7 separate regions of the Homo sapiens genome follow, and regions 1, 2, 4, 5, 6 and 7 are each linked to region 3. Evidence: promoter capture Hi-C in 16 types of primary human blood cells and fetal thymus (Javierre and others, 2016). All regions are on one chromosome and are shown on one strand. Each heading gives the region's core, a stretch centred on a gene start or on the middle of the fragment in contact. The rest is flanking DNA. Distances are from core to core; before and after follow the strand shown.

Region 1 (2,700 bases), core at 89-2,588, 170 kb before region 3:
GGAGAGAACAGTATTCCCTCAGATTGATAGTCTCTAAAAATGATATACTGAATTCACTGAGTAACTAATGACCCAAAATAGACGACACCCTTGAAAAGAGGTACCCATCCCCCACCTCGGGTAGTAAAAGGCCGTTTTATTATTTGCTCAGGCTTTTGAGTCCGGGCAAGAAGGTGGATTAAATTTGTTTAAAACCAGGATATAGAAAAAATAGATTTGGCAAACTTCTGGTAGTTCTCTGAAGAACTTTATTCAGTTCTGTTGATCAGTAAAGCTGTGAGGCCAGATGCAAATTCTGGTCATCTGTATGACAGTGTAGTAGTCTACCCTTCTCCGTGGTTTTGCTTTCACTTACCCATAGTCAATCCTGGTCCAAAAAGATTAAATGGGAAGTTCCATACGTAAACAATTCTTAAGTTTTAAATTGTGCACCATTCTGACTAGCATGGTGAAATCTCCATCCTGGCCCAGACGAGAATCCTGCCTTTGTCCAGCATATCCATGCTGTATATGCTACCCGCCTCTTAGTCACTTAGTAGCCATCTTGGTTATCAGATTGAAAAAACCTATAGTTTTCAGTACTCCAAGGCATCCACTGGGGTTCTTGGAACATATTCCTCGAGGATAAGAGAGGATGACTGTTGTAAGAAATCTACCTCCAGCCTCCCTTACCTGACTATATCTGCTCCTCAGTGAGATTTCGGTGCTAGATGTTCTCCTTTCTCTCTTTACTCTTCCAGATTGACTGTGCTTTCCCTGAAAGCCTAAGTTTTATTCCACAGTAGGTTTTGTATTAATGAGTATGTTTTTAGCCTTACCAGGATATAGCCAGTTTTTCCCCCCAGGGTGAAATACATTTTTGTTTATTATAATTATTTGGGTTGAATTTTTGTACCTGGAGGTAAATTATGGCATAAGTTACATTTACTCATTTTTAAGCAAATCTTATTTAAAGCCAGCTTGCTTTGTTCTACTAGATTGTAATATCTGGAAATACAGATATTTAGTTTTCAGTTTTTTATCACCTATCTTTAGTTTTTTAGTCTTCAGTGTTTTTTTAACCACCTACAGTACTTTCTACCAGTATTAATTTTGAATTGAATATGTTGATCAAAATAAAGAATAAAAATACAGGTGCTGTTACCCTAAGAGCTTAGGTAAAAGGAAGAGTGGGGAAGGATTTCTAAAATCACTTTACAAGGTTTTTTACAAGCAAGAATAACCCAGACTCTGGGTTAGAGATTAGATAACCTCTTCAAGCATGGGTACTCTTCTATGGGATTAATATTTCCTGCCTTACAGGGTTATATGACTGTAAAATAAAATTATGTAATTTGCCTGGCATAGTAGCTACTCAACACATTATCTCTTCATTTTTGTGTCTTTAGTGCCACAGTAGCATCTAGCACATAGTACTTACTCCAGCTCTTGTGTTGAGAATAAACTGAATGGACAATGGCAAAGGCAGGAACGTAATTAAGCAATGCAGTAATCTAGGGAAAAGATAATGGTGTTTTAGAGCAGGGTCATAGAACTGCAAAGAGAAAAAGTGGTCAGATTCTGGATGATTTGAAGGTAGAGCAAATAAGATTTGTTGACAGGCTAGGTGTGCAGTGTGAGAGAGAGGATGACTAAGGGAGTAAGAGAATGCAGTCGAGGCAGAGCACAGTGGTTCACACCTGTAATCTCAGCACTTTGGAAGGCTGAGGTTGGTGGATCACTTGAGCCCAGGAGTTTGAGACCAGCCTGGGCAACATGGTGAAACCCTTTCTCTACAAAAAATACAAAAATTAGCCGGGCATGGTGGCATGCACCTGTAGTCTCAGCTACTGGGAGGCTGAGAGATGGGAGGATTGCTTGAGTCCAGAGGTTGTGGCTGCAGTGAGCCATGGTTGCGCCACTGCACTCCAGCCTGGCAACAGAGAAAGACCTTGTCTCAAAAAAAAAAAAAAAAACGAATTGCCATTTGCTGAGATGGCAAAGATTATGGGAAGGGGGTGAATCAGGAGCTCAGTGTTAAGTTTGAGATGTCTATTAGACATCAAATGGAGATCCATGTAGGCAGTTGAGAAAGGTCCTAAATGGATCTATTAATTTGGAAGTTATCAGCATCTAGATAGGAGTTAAAGCCAGTCCGTGAATGAGACTTGAGATCACCAAGAAAGTGAGGTAGAACAGAGAAGAGGGCGAAGGACAGATCCCTGAGGCACTCCAGTGTTTAGAGGTTAGAAAAATGTGAAGAAACCAGCAACTGGGAGACTGATGGAATAGCCAGAAAGGAAAGAGGAAAACCAGGAGGGTGTGCTATGGAGAATGTGTTTCAGAGAAGAGGGAATCATCAGCTGTGCCAAATACTGTGGGGACATCTGGTAAGATGAAAACTGAGAATCGATCTTTGGATTGAGCAGTATGAAATCATTGGTGACTCTGATGTGAGCAGTTAGAGTGGATTTAAGAAGAGAACTTGAGGACAGATATATTGACACTCGAGTTTTCCTTTAAAAGGAAGAAAAGAAATGGGAAGTAGTTGAAGTGAAATCCAGGAAGGGTTTTCTTTAAGAACAGAGAATGTTTGTCTGCTGATGGGACTATCCAGTAGAGAGGAAAGAAAACGTTAATCATGTAGTAGAAGCAAGGAGAACTTGTGGAGCAGTGCTTTTATGAAAGACTTCAGTGCTAGGAGCAGAGACAGTTCATCTG
Region 2 (2,700 bases), core at 168-2,667, 230 kb after region 3:
CTCATGTTTGGTTTCTCTTGGGACCCAGAAGCTCAGAAGAGGCTGTTTTTCAAGAGAACTGTTCTTTGCTGAAGTGGGCTGGGCTCAATCATTTGGGGTCACCCTGGGGACTCTCCTTCTGCCTCTTGCCTGCCTCATCCCATGGATCACCCCAACTCACCAAGCATCACTGGATCTGCTCGATCATAAGGCCCCAGTGGCAGAAGTGGTTGCAGCCAGAGAGCCCTTTCTTGTCCTAGATCCCAATCAAAGGACACTGCCTCTACCCCTCAAGTTCTATGTGCTGCCATGGCACCACCAGCTGCGCTGGACCCTGGGAGGTTCTGCAGCATGGTGACCCACCCGCACACCAGCCTTCCCTGCAGCAACCAGAACCCACTCCCTACTTCCTTGTGTTGGAGTCTCCGGTGGGCACACCTGGCTGCGTCCAAGACCAAGTCACATGCTTGCTCCTAGCAGCAAGGAGGCCTAAGGCCTGGGACGGTGAGTATCTGGCCTTTTGCCTCCCACCCAATATAGAAAGGGCTGAATGTGCTGGCCAGCCATCCAAGCAACAAAACACAAAAGCATTCTGTCTGAAGGGGCTGCGAACTTATGTGCATAGAGGTCCCAGGCCAGAGCCTGAAGCTACTGCCTGGCTTCAGATCCTGGGCTCTGCTACTCACTAGCTGTGTAACTTTGTATGAGTTGCTTCCTCTTTCTATGCTGTAACTTCTTTATCTGTAAATTGGACATAATGAAAATACCCACTTCATAGGGATGTTGTAAACCCTGTATAAGTAAAGGCAGAACATGCAAATAGCTCAGAGAAGTACTTGGCACATGGAAAGCTTTTATATGAGGTGGATGTGGTTCATTTCTCTTTCTTTATCCCTAAGTACTTCGAACAGTACCATGTATTTAATAAATGATAGCTGTTGTTATTTTATTATTACAGTTTGGGTATCCCTTATCCAAACTGCTTGGGACCAGAAGTGTTCCAGATTTCAGATTTTTTTCAGATTTTGGAATACATATATATATATTAAAATATCTTGGGGATGGGACCCAAGTCTAAACGCAAATTTATTTGTGTTTCATAAACACCTTATACACATAGCCTGAAGGTAACTTTATACAATATTTTAAATAATTTGTACATGAAACAAAGTCTTGACTGTGACCCAACACGTGAGGTCAGGCACGCAATTTGCTACCTGTGGTGTCACACTGGTGCTCAAAACATTTCAGATTTTGGAGCATTTTGGATTTCAGATTTTCAGATTAAGGATGCTCAACCTGTACCTATATCTTTTTTCTTTTTTTTTTTTTTTTTTAGACAGAGTCTCCCTCTGTCGCCCCAGGCTGCAATGCAGTGGTGCAATTTTGGCTCGCTGCAACCTCCACCTCCCAGGTTCAAGTGATTCTCCTGCCTCAGCCTCCCAAGTAGCTGGGATTGCAGGTGTGTGCCACCACGCCAGGCTAATTCTTATACTTTTAGTAGAGACAGGGTTTTGCCATGTTGGCCAGGCTGGTCTCGAACTCTTGACCTCAGGGGATCCACCTGCCTCAGCCTCCCAAAGTGCTGGGATTACAGGCGTGAGCCACCGCCTCAACCTGTACCTGTTTCTTGCCTACTTGTGCAGGTATTTCCATGGGATTGCATCCTTGAAGTGAAATTCCTAGGTAAAACAGTATGCACAGTTTAACTTTTGTGAGGTATTGACAAATTGTTTTTGTTAGTAAGGCACCAATTGACACTCTCATTAGTCCTAAATGAGTGGTCCCTTTGCCGCATAGTCTCACCAATACAAGATTTTAACCTTTAAATTTTTTGCCCATCTTATAGGCAAAAATGTTACTGTATTCTTTCACTGTTTCAATTGTTTACACATGTATTTCAAACTTAATATAAAATTTTAAAAATATGATTGATACATAATGTGAAAAATAAAAATTGCTCCCTGTAATCCAATTCTTGAGGTAACCACTGTTAGCTACATTTGGCATGATAAGGGAAGCTTTATCTCTACAAATCCTTTTCTTTAGGTTTTTTTTTTTTTTTTTAAGCGGAGTCTTGCTCTGTCGCCCAGGGTGGAGTGCAGTGGCACGATCTCAGCTCACTGCAACCTCCACCTCCCGGGTTCATGCCATTCTCCTGCCTCAGATTCCCAAGTAGCTGGGACTACAGGCGCCTGCCACCATGCCCGGCTAATTTTTTTTTTTTTTTTTTTTTTTGTATTTTTAGTAGAGATGGGGTTTCGCTGTGTTAGCCAGGATGGTCTCGATCTCCTGACCTCGTGATCCGCCCGCCTCGGCCTCCCCAAGTCCTGGAATTACAGGAGTGAGCCACCACGCCCGGCCTACTTTTTTTTTTTTTTGAGACAGCGTCTCACTCTGCCACCCAGACCAGAGTGCAGTGGTGCAATCACAGCTCACTGCAGCCTCGACCTCCAGGGCTTAAACAATCTTCCCACCTCAGCACACCTTCCCCACCCCCGAAGTAGCTAGGACTACAGGAGCCTGCCAGGCCTAAATTGTTTTAATTTTTTGTAGAGACGGTGTCTCATTATGTTGCCCAGGCTGGTCACAAACCCCTGGGCTCAAGCAATCTGCCTGCCTCAGCCTCCCAAAATACTGACATCAATCATAAGCCAAATCCTTTTCTATGAACGTATAGATGGATGAATAAATAAATAAATATAAATTTAACTAGTTAAA
Region 3 (2,700 bases), core at 5-2,504:
TGGAGACGCTAGATTCCAAATTAGGGTGTGATACGGGGCCAACCGAGAAGAGAAACTACGGTGTCAAATCCCACGCCCCCCACCCCAAAGGCATGCAAGGGTCAGAAAGCAAGGTAAACTCTTGGAGTAGAAATACAAAAAGGAGGGGAGGAAAGGGGCACACGGTGGGATGGAAAAATTTAGGGGCAGCGTAACCATGAGGAGAGGGTAACTAAGGAAAGAAAAAGGAGACGAGCGGGGAGGGATGGTGTTTCCGGAGGAAAAGTAGGAGCAGACCAGAGGTCCTGCCTACTTGGTCTGGAGGGCAGAAGGGGCAGTCCACGGGGGCGGAGGGGAGTGGTGGAGAACGAAACTGCGATGCTGAAGATGAGAACTTGGGGGGGACACGGTACTGGCTGGATCAGAAAACGAAACGCCGTCAGTAAGGAGCAGATGAGGTTCCTTCTGAGCAAGACGAGGGGGAGTGAGGAGCAGAATGCAGCACGCCAAACGGGAAGGCAAAGGGGCGGAGAAGAGCCCAGAGTAATCGGGGCACAGGGAGGAGCACTGGGGGCGCAAGGGCATCAGCTGGAGACGACGGGGTGGGAGACCGGCGTCGCAGAAGCCCCGGGGCGGGTGGTGGGAGGGCAGCCCACAAGGAGGGGCCCGGCTGCGGAGGCCTGAGGGGCGGGGGTCCGGAGGCCGGCTCGGAGCTCGGGGGAGGTGCGGCCTGGGGGTGACAAGGGTAGCGAGGAGTGCAGGGGCAGGAGGGGCGCGGGGAGGATGGGGCGGCGGGTAGCCCCGATACTCACACCTCCAGGATGCGGTCCCCCTTGCGCACCCCGGCCCGATCGGCCGCCCCCCCGGGCAGCACGGCGCTCACATGCTGCAGCGGCGCGTACAGCTCCCCGTTGATGCTCCGCAGTTGCCCGCCCTCGCTCACTTGGCCCCGCACGTTGAAGCCGTAGCCGGACTCGGACTTGACGATGCGCACGACCCGCGGGCCGCCGCCTCCCCCGCCGCCGTTCCCGGCGCAGTGGAGCCCAGACCCCCCGCCGCCGCCGCCACCTCCGTTCCTGTGAGGGGCTGAGGGATGAATCCCTTCCCCGTCCTCGTCCGCCATCTTGCGAGCAGGCGAGCCGTACCCCCGCCCCCTACGCCTCCAAGGCCTCCCGGCGCGTGCTCGCCCTGCCTGGCAGCCGGACGACCCCCGACGCGCGCGCCCGATCCGCCGGCCGCGGGACCGACTCGGCCACCGAGCTGCTGGCGCGGGGTGAAGAGGAGGCAGGGGGCGGGCGAAAAGCGGACAATCGGGCACCGTGGGGCCTCCTGGGAGATGTAGTTTATGGGTGGCGGGGGCGGGGAGCGGTCTGGGCCTGGGCCTGAGCCGAGGTTATAAGACGCAGTTCGGAAGCAAGGCCTGCCGGGAGTTGTAGTTTATCTTTCATGCTGGGTTAGGAGTTTGATCTGCTGGGTGGGGAGAGTATAACCCAGCACCCAGCGTGGTAAAATGATTCAGTTCTTGATGCGGACCAAGTTTTTCGCCCCCCCCCCTTTCATTTCATAACCTCTAAAAAACAATAATGTTAGAATAACTTAACGTTTGTGATTCAACACAGTCTTAAATTATATCAACTCATTTTTTGGCACAGTAACTTATATGTTGACCAGGGCCCAACAACCTGTGAGGCAACCGGATCACGATTAGCTTCCCTATTTTACGTTATTAGGAAACAACCTTAGAGTGCTCAAAGTCATCCAGCTACTAAGTATCAGGAACTAAGGCCCAGTTATTGTGCAACTTTCTTGTCCTGTATTGCAACTACAGTCATGTGCCACATAAGGACATTTTGGTCTACAATGGACTGCAAACACGAGGGAGGCCCCCTAAGATGATAATGGAGCTGAAAAATGTCTATCACCTAGTGGCACAGTAGCCACCATAAGGTCATAGCACAAGCATTACTCACATGTTTGGAGTGATGCTGGTGTTAACAAACCTGCACTGCCAGTCATGTGAAAGTATAGCACATATGATTATGTACAGTACATAATACTTGATAATGGTAAGAACTATGTTACTAGTTTATGAATTCACTGTAGTTTTTATCACTATTTTAGAGTGTACTCCTTCTACTTTTTTTTTTAAGTTAACTGTAAAGCAGCCTCAGGCAGGTCCTTCAGAAGGTATTCTAGGTATTCTAAGTATTGTGATTTTTTTCCACGTATTCCAAGTATTGTGTTTTTTTGTTTTGTTTTGTTTTTTTGTTTTTTTTTTTTTTAAGATGGAGTTTCGCTCTTATCGCCCAGGCTGGAATGCAATGGCACGATATCGGCTCACCGCAACCTCTGCCTCCCAGGTTCAAGTGATTCTCCTGCCTCAGCCTCCCAAATCCCTTGCGATTAAACGCATGCGCCACCATGCCTGGCTAATTTTTTGGTATTTTTAGTAGAGACAGGGTTTCACCATGTTGGCCAAGCTGGTCTCGAACTCCTGACCTCAGGTGATCCAACCACCTCAGCCTCCCAAAGTGCTGGGATTACAGGTGTGAGCCACTGTGCCTGGCCCCAGTTATTGTTACCATCAGATGACAGCTCTGTGCATGTTATTACCCATGAAGACCTTCCAGTGAGACAAGAGATGGAGGTGGAAGACAGTGAAATTGATGATCCAGATCTGGTGTAGGCATAGGCTATGTTTGTGTTTAAGTCTTAGTTTTT
Region 4 (2,700 bases), core at 1-2,500, 200 kb after region 3:
CTATGATTTACTGATTGTTGAAAATCAAAATAAAGGAGGCAGAGAAAATAAAGATTGTGAGTCAGCAGGACTTTTGTCTTATTTTCAAGTGGATTTATTGATTACTTTTCTTCTTACAGCCAAGTGCAAGATCTGTGAATGGGCGTTTGAAAGTGAGCCACTATTTCTCCAGCATATGAAGGATACTCATAAGCCTGGAGAGATGCCTTATGTTTGCCAGGTATTGCCTTTTTCTCCAGGGAGTTTTAGCAGTTTTGCCCTCAGGAAGAATACAAAGAATTTACTAATGAATATTGTTGACCACCTACTGCATACACTCAGTTTAGGAACTCTGAGTAGGTACAGAAGAAATAGTAAACACAGTTTATCTTCAGGGTTTCCATGCAGGAGAAAAACATAAAAGAACATGTCCACAAGTAGACTAGCCGGGAACATGTGCATATTCTAAGGGAGTGTCTGTCTCCTGAACGTGCCCTTTGGAAATTGACAGAAAAGGCTTTATTTTTCTTAGTTAGAGAACATGGATTATTCTTAGACTTTCTGTCCCTTCCTATTTTTAAAGTAATAGCTAAACCTATCACAAACATAGCCCAGCATTACAAAGTCAGGAAAATAATTTGATTTCTATGCATTTGAGAAAACTTTTTTTTTTTAATTTAAAAATTTTTGTTGCTACCTTTTTTTTTAAGGCCTCTCAGTTGTTCACTTCATTCTTAGCCTTATTTTCCCTCCTATGTGACTCAGGTGTGTCAATATCGCTCCTCACTCTACTCTGAGGTAGATGTCCATTTTCGGATGATCCATGAGGATACCCGGCATCTGCTCTGCCCTTATTGCCTGAAGGTCTTCAAAAATGGCAATGCATTCCAACAGCATTACATGAGGCACCAGGTACTAGGCACCAAGCAATTCCCATATTCTCTTGTTTTTTTTTTTTTTAAACATGGATGCTGGGGCCAGGGCTGAGCTAGGCAAATAATTTGGGCAGAGATTATAATATGCATATGTTTGCAGAAATTTATTGAATTCACTTAATGTGCCATGTACTAGTCTAGATGCTAGAGATTTAGTAGTAAACAAGGCAAACAATACAATAAAACATGAAGAGTACTGTGTTGGGGAAATTATAGGATATAGAAAATCACATAGCTATTCTGGGTGCCTAGTAAGGCTTCCAGAAAGAAGTGTTGTTCAATACCTGAGGGATGAATAAGAATGAGCCAGATGAAATAAGACGAAGAACAGTGTGCCCAAGGCACAAAGCAAAATTGTGGAGGTTCAAGAAATTGAGAGAGATTCAGTGTAGGGTGTAAGAGACAGAGGGGTTGGAAGTTAGGCAGGGACAGATCATGGAGGATCTTTTAAGCCATGAAAAGAATTCACTGGGAAGCCACTAAAGGGGTTTTAAGCCCTGGAGTGATGTGTTCAGCTTTAGTTAAGGCTTTATACTGCCTGCACTGCAGAGAATGGATTAAAGGAGATTGAGACTACAGTTAGGGAAACTAGCTAGAAGGCCTTTTTCAGTAGTTTAGGTGAGAGATGATAGTGGCTATTGGCTTTTGAAATAAAAAGAGGGTAGAGTTGAGAGATATTCAGAAGATTTGTGATATTTATGATGTAGAGATGGATTAGGTGAAGGTAGCAATGCAGTAGTTAAGAATAGTGCCTAAGATTCTGTCTTGGGCAGTTGGGTGAATGAGGGAACTATTTGCTGAAATAGAAACAATAGAGAAAGTATATTTGTGAGGGGGGAGATCATGAGCTTGGATATTGTAAGTTAGCAGTATCTGTGGATGTCAAGTGTAGCTGTTGGATAATAGATCTCAAGCCTGTGAGAGAACTCTGGGTTGTAGAAAAGATTTAGGAATCAGCGTTATATAAATCCTATAGATTTTAAACTTAAATACCATGGGCCCCCCAACCCTGTTGAGAATAAGAGAAGGCTTAGGATATTTGAAGTCCCTTATCTATAAAGCAACCACCATAGTACTAGGAGGAAAACCAGAAGAGTCTTAACCTTAAGGAAACTGGGGAGAAGAAAGTGTTTTAAAGAAAAGGGTGTGATCAAAATGTCATATGTTACAGGAAGGTGTCAAGCAACATAGAGACTTAGAAACAGGCCTTTAATTTAGCAACATTGATGAGAGCCATTTTGTTGGTTGGTAGGGTGGAAGTCACATTTCAGCAGAACAAATGAATGAGAGGTAAGGAAATGAAGACGATGTATTTAAAGAAGTTTATTTATAAAAAGGGAGGACCCAGGGTAGGTAAATCCAGAGGAAGAAGTGGCAAAGAAGAGTTTTTTATTGCTTTTATTTTCCTTATAAGATGAAAAGCTATGACTTCGTTTTAAAATACTACAAGAAGAGAGCCACTAGAGGAGAGTGAAAGGTATATAGTATATAAGAGAGGATTCAAAATGGAGAATAAGATGAGTGCATGTGTGCTTAATAGTCACATACATATGCACACAAACATATGTACCCTATTACACTCATAGTCTCCTTTGCACAGTAGTGACTGCTGATTGTCTACCACAACTGTATTTCCAAATAGGGGCATGGAAATTGTCTCTTAGCCTAAGCTTACAGAGCTTTGTTATCCTACTAAAGAAAATCATAGACATGGGTTCTATTTTTGAAGGACTTCAATACTAGGCAGACTGAATCCTCAAAGTGGTCTCACCAGGAGACATATCTG
Region 5 (2,700 bases), core at 103-2,602, 150 kb before region 3:
ATGTCCTGATAAACCCATCGTATGTTGAAAGTATCATAAGTTGAAAATGCATATAATACACCTACCAAACACCATAGCTTAGCCTAGCCTATCTTAAACATGCTCAGACAACTTATCCGACAGTTGGGTAAAATCATCTAACACAAAGCCTATTTTATAATAAAGTGTTGAATATTTCATGTAACTTATTGATGTCCTACTGAGTGCACATCACTTTCACACCATCACAAACTCAAAAATTGTAAATCCAAGTCAGGGACTATCTGTAATTTAAAGGTAGAACCCACAGGATTTCCTGATGGAGTATGAGAGAAAAGAGTTAGAATGGAAAGAATGGAGTTTCTGTCAACTGAGAGGAAAAAGGCTGCAGATGGGGCAGTTTTGGGGGCGAGGGGGGAATAAATAAATTAGTTTGGGACAGTTAACTTTGAGGTGTCCTTTGGATACGTAAGAGGAAAATGACGAATAAACAGTTGAATATTTGAGACGAGTTTGGGAGATGTCTAGGATGGAACTAGAAATTTGGGAGTCATTGGCTTATAAATGGTATTGTAAGCCACGAGACTGGATGAGATCAACAGTGAGTGTATACTGAGAAGAGTAAAGGTTCAAAAACGGAGTCCCGAGGGCATTCTAAGAAGCGGGGAGAAAAGGAGAAATCAGCAAACGAGACTGAAGAAGACCGGTGTCCAGGAGGCCAAGTAGTGTATTTAGGAGGAAGGAGGACTGGTCAGTATGTTTAAGGGCCAGTCTTTCCATAATCTCTGCCAAATGGACCTTCTTTCATCCAGTTTTTATGGTCTTCTGTCCAGTACTGAGACCCTCCCCAGAGGGAACTGTCGCGGCCTTACCATAGTTGCTTTTTTTTCTACGGTTTACATAGCTTGTGATTTAGAATTCTCCTTTATTAGCTTAAATACTGCAGTATAATGATTAAGGGTCAGGCTCCTCCTGGAGCTGGCAGAGTTTTCCAAGGGATCCCATCCTTTACCACTTTTAGGTAGATTTGAAGTAAGGAAAAGTGAGAGCATCATTCATTCTCCGGTCAGTATCCAGTCATCACAGAACGTTAGAATTAAAAGTTAGCCCAGCAACTGGAGCTACAGCAAAGCCCACACTTTCAAGAGGAAGAGCGTCTTTTCCGGCGTCAGTCCACCTAACACTCATTCCATTATCAGTCAGTAATTCTAGGCGTCCGTCACCTCTGCCAAAAAGCAAAAATAGGCAAGCCGCGGTGCCATCTGTTCCCCGGCCCGCTCCCCATACTTTCGCTCAGCCGTACCGGCGCGCCGCAGGCAGCACTGGCGGGGGCCTTTCCTGCCGCCGACGCCGGGGTCCTCCCTCAGGTCTCATTCTGTGCCTGTGAACATGGCGGCGCCCGTTGTCACGGCCCCGGGCAGAGCTCTGCTGCGGGCGGGCGCTGGACGGCTGCTTCGGGGAGGCGTCCAGGAGCTACTGCGGCCGCGACATGAAGGGAACGCCCCTGACCTGGCCTGCAACTTCAGCCTTTCTCAAAATCGGGTGAGGGCTGAGTCTGGGGTAGGGGGTAGATACGCTCGAGTATTGTTTCTGGAGGCGCACTGGGACCTGGAGGGGGCCGATGTGGGGGTGGCGGGCTTTCCTTGAGGGGCTGGCGGCCGTGGTGGAGGGAGAGGGTGTTCCTTGTGGAGACTAGCTTACCGTCGCTTTCCTGGCCGCCAGGGCACGGTCATCGTGGAGCGCTGGTGGAAGGTACCGCTGGCCGGGGAGGGCCGGAAGCCGCGCCTGCACCGGCGACATCGCGTCTATAAGCTGGTGGAGGACACGAAGCATCGGCCCAAAGAAAACCTGGAGCTCATCCTGACGCAGTCGGTGGAGAGTAAGGCCCGGGCCGAGGCGCTTCCTCTCAGGCTGGTCCGGTTTGGCATCAGCTTTTTCTAGCCCGTCCCCCTCAACTATTTGCCTTGCTTTTTCTTTGTGGAAACAATCCAACTCTATATGTGAGAAGAGGAAGCCATAAAAACTATTGTGATTGTGACACTGGCCTCCAGCATTGAAAATTAAAACATAAAGGCAGCAACATCATTAACAGTGTGTGGGGAGAGGAGCCTGACAATTTGTGCCACAGATACTGAAATCCTCCATGGGACGACAACTCCCTCTATACAGGGGATATTAAATTTATACATCAAGTTCTAAAGAAACTAATTAGCAGTCTCTTAAATCTTGTTCCTAGTGAATATGAATTAGCATTTCTTTTAGGAAAAATAAGCACTGTGAGAAACTAAGAGGTGCTTCTCTTTTTGACATCTTTTCTTTAGGGACTCCTAGATGGTTCTAATTCCCCTGTCTCTGTTCTAATTGACAGATGTTGGAGTCCGGGGTGACCTGGTCTCAGTGAAGAAATCTTTAGGCCGGAATCGACTCCTTCCTCAGGGACTGGCTGTATATGCATCCCCTGAAAACAAGAAGCTGTTTGAAGAGGAGAAATTGGTGAGCTCAAAGGAAGGACAGAGAGACTTGGGGAGATAAAACTTCTTTTCTCTTGCAGCTTCCTTCCCTTTGACATTTAACTTAACTTGAAAATGAAATAGGAACTAGAAGAACAGGAATGCAGAAGCCCAGCCAATGTCCAACATAGGAATAGTTTGATGCTATTTAACATGGGCTCATTTTTCTTTTACTGCTTTTCATCTTTAACTTTCTTTTCTAGCTGAGACA
Region 6 (2,700 bases), core at 8-2,507, 180 kb after region 3:
AAAAATGTCTATCCATTTGGAATAAACTGGCATCCAGAAGATTTGTTTTTATTGTTCTAAATATCCTAAGTCATTTAGTAAGTACATTTAAAGAAAATCTAAAAATATAAAAATATTAATGATTTAAGCCCAATTTTAAAAAATCTGCTTCTAACCTTTGGCCAGGGTGGTGGTTTTATTTATTTCTGTTTAGCTTTTCACCACCCTTCATCAAGTAGTAAAACAGAGTTTACAGTCATTTTTCTGTAACTGGTATTTAGTCAGCTATTAAGACTATGTTATTAATGCAAACTCATAAATTCTACACTCCTTACACATCTCCTCATTTGCACGGTGGGATTATAAACTTTGTTTTAATTTTATAGCATAGATTTTAGATATAAACAAATGACATTCCTTTTATGGATAAATACTGTCAATGACTAGATAGTTTTTTTTTTTAAGATTCTGCTAGATAGTTTTTTTTTTTTTTAAGATTCTGAGAAGGATAATTTTTTTAAAATCTTAGAATTTTCCATTGCTCTATTTAGCATGTATAAGTTTACTACAATTCAGACCAAAAAAGAGTATCTTAATTTAGCTATTTGTAAGGGTACCTCTGTAGCTTGTCTTCCTAAGGTTTTGTTTTTTGTTCTCGTAGCCCATAGGGGTTTAAGTCTGACCAGCTTACCCTGGCATTTCTTTATTTTTCTCAGTGGAATTGTCTACAGTTGAGCCAGGAGACATTCCTCTTTGGGACATCCTAGTAGAATGGCATAGTCTGTCTTCTGAGTTGATAGAAGAGGATGGAAGACTCCTTTAGTACTCTGAGAAAGACTGATTTCTTTTTTCAGGACCAGGTTTGCCATTTGGCCTATATACACCCATATTGCTTCCCACTCTTTTCTTCCAGTACCGAGGTCAAGCCACTGATTGTATTCTTAGAATTAAAAAGGCAGTGTGATAAGGTGTTTTAGGAGGAGTTGATGGGAGTCTTATTTAACTTAATGTTTTTAGGCTGCCCAGGTTATTTTGTCAACATGGACACCTTGTGCTTTCTTAGTCTTTAGAATCTATACTCCTCTTGGAAACCTCTGATGATCATCCATCAGTTTGGGGAAATAATCTTTCCAGTAAAGGCAGGGAGAATGTGTTATAGGTGAGCTCACTGACCAAGATCTGGTACTTTGTCTCTCTTTTAAAGCCCCAGGTACCCAGTTTGTTAAGCCGACAGTTGGAGTTCCACAAGTGTTCTCCCAGATGACCCCTGTGAGGCCAGGCTCCACAATGCCTGTGAGGCCCACCACCAACACCTTCACCACCGTCATCCCGGCCACTCTTACCATTCGAAGCACCGTCCCACAGTCCCAGTCCCAGCAGACCAAGTCCACTCCCAGCACTTCTACCACTCCCACTGCCACACAGCCAACCTCACTGGGGCAACTAGCTGTTCAGTCTCCAGGCCAGTCAAACCAGACCACGAATCCCAAGCTAGGTAAGGCTTCGGAAGAGGAGATGGCAGAGCCAGGTTGGGATGGTGGGTGGAGAACAGATGATTATCACTTGGTCACCGTAGCTCCCTCCTTCCCCTCTCCACCTGCAGTGAGCATTGCCAGCTTTGTCACTGTGAAGCGACCTGGTGTTACAGGCGAAAATAGCAATGAAGTGGCCAAATTGGTGAATACCCTTAACACCATCCCTTCCCTGGGCCAGAGTCCTGGGCCAGTGGTGGTGTCCAACAACAGCTCTGCTCATGGCTCTCAAAGAACCAGCGGACCTGAGTCTTCAATGAAAGGTACAATAACCTGAAAGACTCTGAGCAGCCAGTCATTCAAAAACATTAATAAAGTGTTTGTTGTATCAGAGCTTTATACTCAGAAATAGAAAAATAAAATAAAATACAGCTGCTGTAGTTTGTTCTTACAGAAACTTTAGTAAGGAGAAAGCCACTTACAAAAAGTGTAACTGAATCAGCTCCAAGAAATTATGTGTGTAATTGTGCTTTGGAGATTAGTGAAATTGATTGATTAAAGATGGGTGAGATAATGAAAGATAACTTCATGGAAGAGATGGATTTCTGAGCAAGGTTTTAAAGTTAGGATTTGGTAGAGAGATCTTCAGGTTGAGAATGATGAGCATGAGGGTTTTCAGTGGTCTAGAGCAGGGGTCGGCAAATGTTTTCTGTAAAGGGCCTAGTAGTAAAGTTGTAGGCTTTGTGCACAATATATAGCCTCTGTTGCAGCTATTAACTGTGCTGTTGTGGTGGGGAAGCAGCCACAGATACATAAACGAATGAGCATGGCTGTGCTCCACTAAAAACTATTTATGGACTCTGAAATTTAAGTTTCATAAAATTTTCATGTGTCGAAAAGTTTTATTCTTTTATTTCAACCATTTAAAAATAAAAACCGCAAGGTATAGTGGCTCACACCTCATCCCAGCATTATGGGAGGCCAAGACGGGAGGATCACTTGAGCCTAGGAGTTTGAGACCAGCCTGGGCAACATGGTGAGATCCCATCTCTACAAAAAAAAAAAAAAAAAAGATTAGCCAGGCGTGGTGGTGTATGTCTGCAGTCCTCGCTACTCAGAAGTCTGAGGTGAGAGGATGGCTTGGGCTTGAACCCAGAAGGTTGAGCCTGCAGTGAGCCATGAGCATGCCACTGCAACAGAACGACACCCTGTCTCAAAAAAAGTAAAAACCTTTAAAACATGGTGTTGG
Region 7 (2,700 bases), core at 156-2,655, 160 kb after region 3:
GTTAAGGACTGCAATATTTTAAAATGTTGTTTAATGAAATATGTTATTTGGAAGATGGGCATAACTCAGTAAATCTAGGCTTTGCAAATGACCAATGCATGATGTTGCAAAATCAAGCAAAGGCAAAAGATCCTTTGAAAATTCCAGACATAGCAATGGATTTTAACAGTAAAAAAGTGGATTGATGTGGTTTCAGATTCCAAAATGTTAACTGTCCTTTAAGAAACTACTATTTGGCCTAGCGTGGTGGCTCACTCCTGTAATCCCAGCACTTTGGGAGGCCAAGGTGGAAGGATTGTGTGAGCCCAGGAGTTGGAGTTGAGCCTGGTCAGCATAGTGAGACCCTGTCTCTATTTATTAAAAAAAAAAAAAAAAAAAAAAAAGAAAGAAACTACCGTTTGTTGAGTTTTAGTATTTACCAAACACAGTTATCTGAAAAGGTTATTAAAATACTTCTCCCTTTTCCGACTAGATTTTCATTATATACTTAACCAAAGCTACATATAGCAACAGACTGAATGCAGAAGTAACTGTGAGAATCCAACCATCTTTTATCAAGTTAGACATAAAAGAGATTTGCAAAATGCAAAACAACGTTACTTTTCTCACTTTTTGGAGGGAAAGTATTTTTTGTTGAAATGTTATTTATGTTAACTTATAATGGGCTTGTCTTAAAATACATTGATAAATACTACATTTTAAAAATTTGTGGTAAATGTGGAAAGATAAAATTCACATAAACAAAAGATCTTTGGCGTCTTCAATAATTTTAAGAGTCAAAAAAATGAGAATCATTCAGTCAGTCCTATGTTTCTGCTCTTTACATCATTCAAATCTAACTCCCTTGGGGAACTTGGGAGAATTTATAAATAGTTGAAGTTGATGGAAGAGGCAGTGACCTGGGGAAGAATTCTAAAGCAAAAAAAGCTTGCTTTGAATCCTAACTGGGATATTTACTAACTGTAACCTTGAGGAAGTTACTTCGTCTCTCTAAACCACTGTTTTGACCTTATCTGTAAAATAAAAACTTTAGAGCTGGTTGATTACAAATCCTAGAGCTGGTTAATGCCTTTGCCATAATATCAATATGGTAACATTTTGATAGATTCTTTGGTATTCTTGTTTGTGATATTAAGCCATATTCACAAAAACTTGTCTTTTTTTTTTTTTTGAGATGGAGTCTCGCTCTATTGCCCAGGCTGGAGCGTAATGGCGCAATCTCGGCTCACTGCACCCTCCGCCTCCTGGGTTCAAGCGATTCTCCTCCTTCAGCTTCCTCAGTAGCTGGGATTACAGGCACGCGCCACCACACCTGGGTAATTTTTGTATTTTTCTAGAGATGGGGTTTCACCATATTGATCAGGCTGGTCTCAAACTCCTGACCTCTTGATCGACCCGCCTTGGCCTCCCAAAGTGCTGGGATTACAGGCGTGAGCCACCACGCCCAACTGAAAAACGTATTTTTATATGTAACCAAGGGGAGGAGAGCAGAAAAGAGACACTAACCTATTGCTAGGTGTTAGCAGAGTTAAAAGAAATTGAAAGCATAGAAATGGAATTTAGGCAACACACAGCTGTCATTGAAGAAAAGTTTTCCATCATAGTATAGATATTTTTCTTGGGAAAGGGACTCCTGAATATTGAACCCCTTTAAAGAAGAGAACTTGTTGCTTACTTGTTTTAGTAAAGAGCACAGAACTAAATATTTGGGTGTTTCTTGATACAGGATTGGCTACCAGACAAGAGGAAAGTATTTTGAGTTTGGAAATTTTAGGTTATTAAGACTACTTAAAACCCTTATGATTCTTACATATGAGGTACTATAACAGATGTTGTGAGGGACAAAATGGGCTGTGCAAAAGACTGGATAAATAAAAGCTTATTACATGTTTAACTATAGTTTTATACACAGATTAAGTATTCAGCCCTATAGGTTTTCTGGTATTAGTCCTTTTTAGAGCCAAAAATTGAGGTAACTTGAAAACATAATTACCAGTTATGTTGAGGATTATCATTGTTTATTTTTCACCCTGGAACAAGAAAGTGGTATTCTTAAAATGTTTGTTTTCTGTAAAATATTTTTCCTGTTCCAAATGTTCTTTTTATGTTGATTTTTGGGCAGGTATGTACTGGCAGTAAGTTGAAAACGTTAGATACCAAATTCTTCATTTCTGAATTCTTCATTCTTCATTTCTGGACTTTACAGCTATGAAAGAACAAGACAAAGGAATTCAGAGCTTTCAAGAACCAAGTATGTCAGGATAGTTGTGGAAAACAGATCTTTTTCTCATTTTCTTTGAGATGAAGATAGGCAACATTTGCTGCCCATTAAATACCTTAAAAGTATACAGGTGTATCTGCAGGATTCTTTTTGCTGCTTTTAAATAGTATATTGTTTTAAAAGGTCTGTTTTTATCTTGCCTTTACAATTATATAGACTTTTATTGACTAGCTGATCATATAGGGCCTTAGTATAGACTACCATATTCGCCAGCATTTAAGAAATAGTCCCCTTCCCTCCAGGAGAGTATTTATCTGGTACTCCCATATTATGGATTGAAGGATGAGACAAGAGACTGAGTATTGCTAATAGTTCTGTGTGAGCCTGCAGTGTTAAGTAAAACCTATTGAGTGCACAAAAAAATCATGTTACAATTACTACAAAATAGAGAAACCACCTAGGTTACCAAGATGTCAAAT

Evidence for each region. The method cuts DNA at HindIII sites, captures the fragments that hold promoters and counts their contacts. A CHiCAGO score of 5 or more calls a contact.
Region 1: a fragment that was not itself captured here is called in contact with the fragment with the promoter of SNX27 in region 3 in 13 of 17 cell types (naive CD4 T cells, fetal thymus, non-activated CD4 T cells and 10 more); the score reaches 8.4 in naive CD4 T cells.
Region 2: a fragment that was not itself captured here is called in contact with the fragment with the promoter of SNX27 in region 3 in 1 of 17 cell types (M2 macrophages); the score reaches 5.1 in M2 macrophages.
Region 4: a fragment that was not itself captured here is called in contact with the fragment with the promoter of SNX27 in region 3 in 2 of 17 cell types (M2 macrophages and activated CD4 T cells); the score reaches 5.7 in M2 macrophages.
Region 5: the fragment with the promoter of MRPL9 here is called in contact with the fragment with the promoter of SNX27 in region 3 in 4 of 17 cell types (naive CD4 T cells, total CD8 T cells, total CD4 T cells and 1 more); the score reaches 8.0 in naive CD4 T cells.
Region 6: a contact is called between a fragment that was not itself captured here and the fragment with the promoter of SNX27 in region 3, in 2 of 17 cell types (erythroblasts and M2 macrophages). The highest score is 5.2, in erythroblasts.
Region 7: a contact is called between a fragment that was not itself captured here and the fragment with the promoter of SNX27 in region 3, in 15 of 17 cell types (M2 macrophages, megakaryocytes, M1 macrophages and 12 more). The highest score is 10.9, in M2 macrophages.

The regions. Positions count from the first base shown.
Region 1 is chr1:151,784,189-151,786,888 of GRCh38, reverse strand. All of the region lies in intron 1 of TDRKH (tudor and KH domain containing), which reads left to right. Among named protein-coding and RNA genes, the nearest start is that of TDRKH, 5.0 kb to the left of the region's middle. The HindIII fragment of the contact is 2,858 bases long and covers 1-2,700 here.
Region 2 is chr1:151,379,219-151,381,918 of GRCh38, reverse strand. No RefSeq gene overlaps it. Among named protein-coding and RNA genes, the nearest start is that of SELENBP1, 7.9 kb to the right of the region's middle. The HindIII fragment of the contact is 1,170 bases long and covers 833-2,002 here.
Region 3 is chr1:151,610,604-151,613,303 of GRCh38, reverse strand. It overlaps SNX27 (sorting nexin 27), which reads right to left and starts at 1,254. Exons shown (of 12, transcript NM_001330723.2): 1 at 792-1,254. The coding sequence starts at 1,102. It overlaps LOC124904420 (a long non-coding RNA gene), which reads left to right. Exons shown (of 2, transcript XR_007066622.1): 1 at 1-113; 2 at 905-2,700. RefSeq lists a silencer at 899-1,338 and an enhancer at 1,379-1,478. The HindIII fragment of the contact is 5,045 bases long and covers 1-2,700 here.
Region 4 is chr1:151,409,816-151,412,515 of GRCh38, reverse strand. It overlaps POGZ (pogo transposable element derived with ZNF domain), which reads left to right. Exons shown (of 19, transcript NM_015100.4): 11 at 120-220; 12 at 745-891. Among named protein-coding and RNA genes, the nearest start is that of PSMB4, 12 kb to the right of the region's middle. The HindIII fragment of the contact is 2,672 bases long and covers 1-2,586 here.
Region 5 is chr1:151,762,148-151,764,847 of GRCh38, reverse strand. MRPL9 (mitochondrial ribosomal protein L9) reads left to right here and starts at 1,352. Exons shown (of 7, transcript NM_031420.4): 1 at 1,352-1,521; 2 at 1,702-1,858; 3 at 2,348-2,472; 4 at 2,693-2,700. The coding sequence starts at 1,369. It also overlaps a transcript of OAZ3 not described here. RefSeq lists an enhancer at 1,202-1,581. The HindIII fragment of the contact is 8,401 bases long and covers 1-2,700 here.
Region 6 is chr1:151,426,897-151,429,596 of GRCh38, reverse strand. POGZ (pogo transposable element derived with ZNF domain) reads left to right here. Exons shown (of 19, transcript NM_015100.4): 6 at 1,184-1,474; 7 at 1,556-1,774. Among named protein-coding and RNA genes, the nearest start is that of PSMB4, 29 kb to the right of the region's middle. The HindIII fragment of the contact is 3,154 bases long and covers 1-2,700 here.
Region 7 is chr1:151,453,578-151,456,277 of GRCh38, reverse strand. All of the region lies in intron 1 of POGZ (pogo transposable element derived with ZNF domain), which reads left to right. Among named protein-coding and RNA genes, the nearest start is that of POGZ, 4.6 kb to the left of the region's middle. The HindIII fragment of the contact is 951 bases long and covers 930-1,880 here.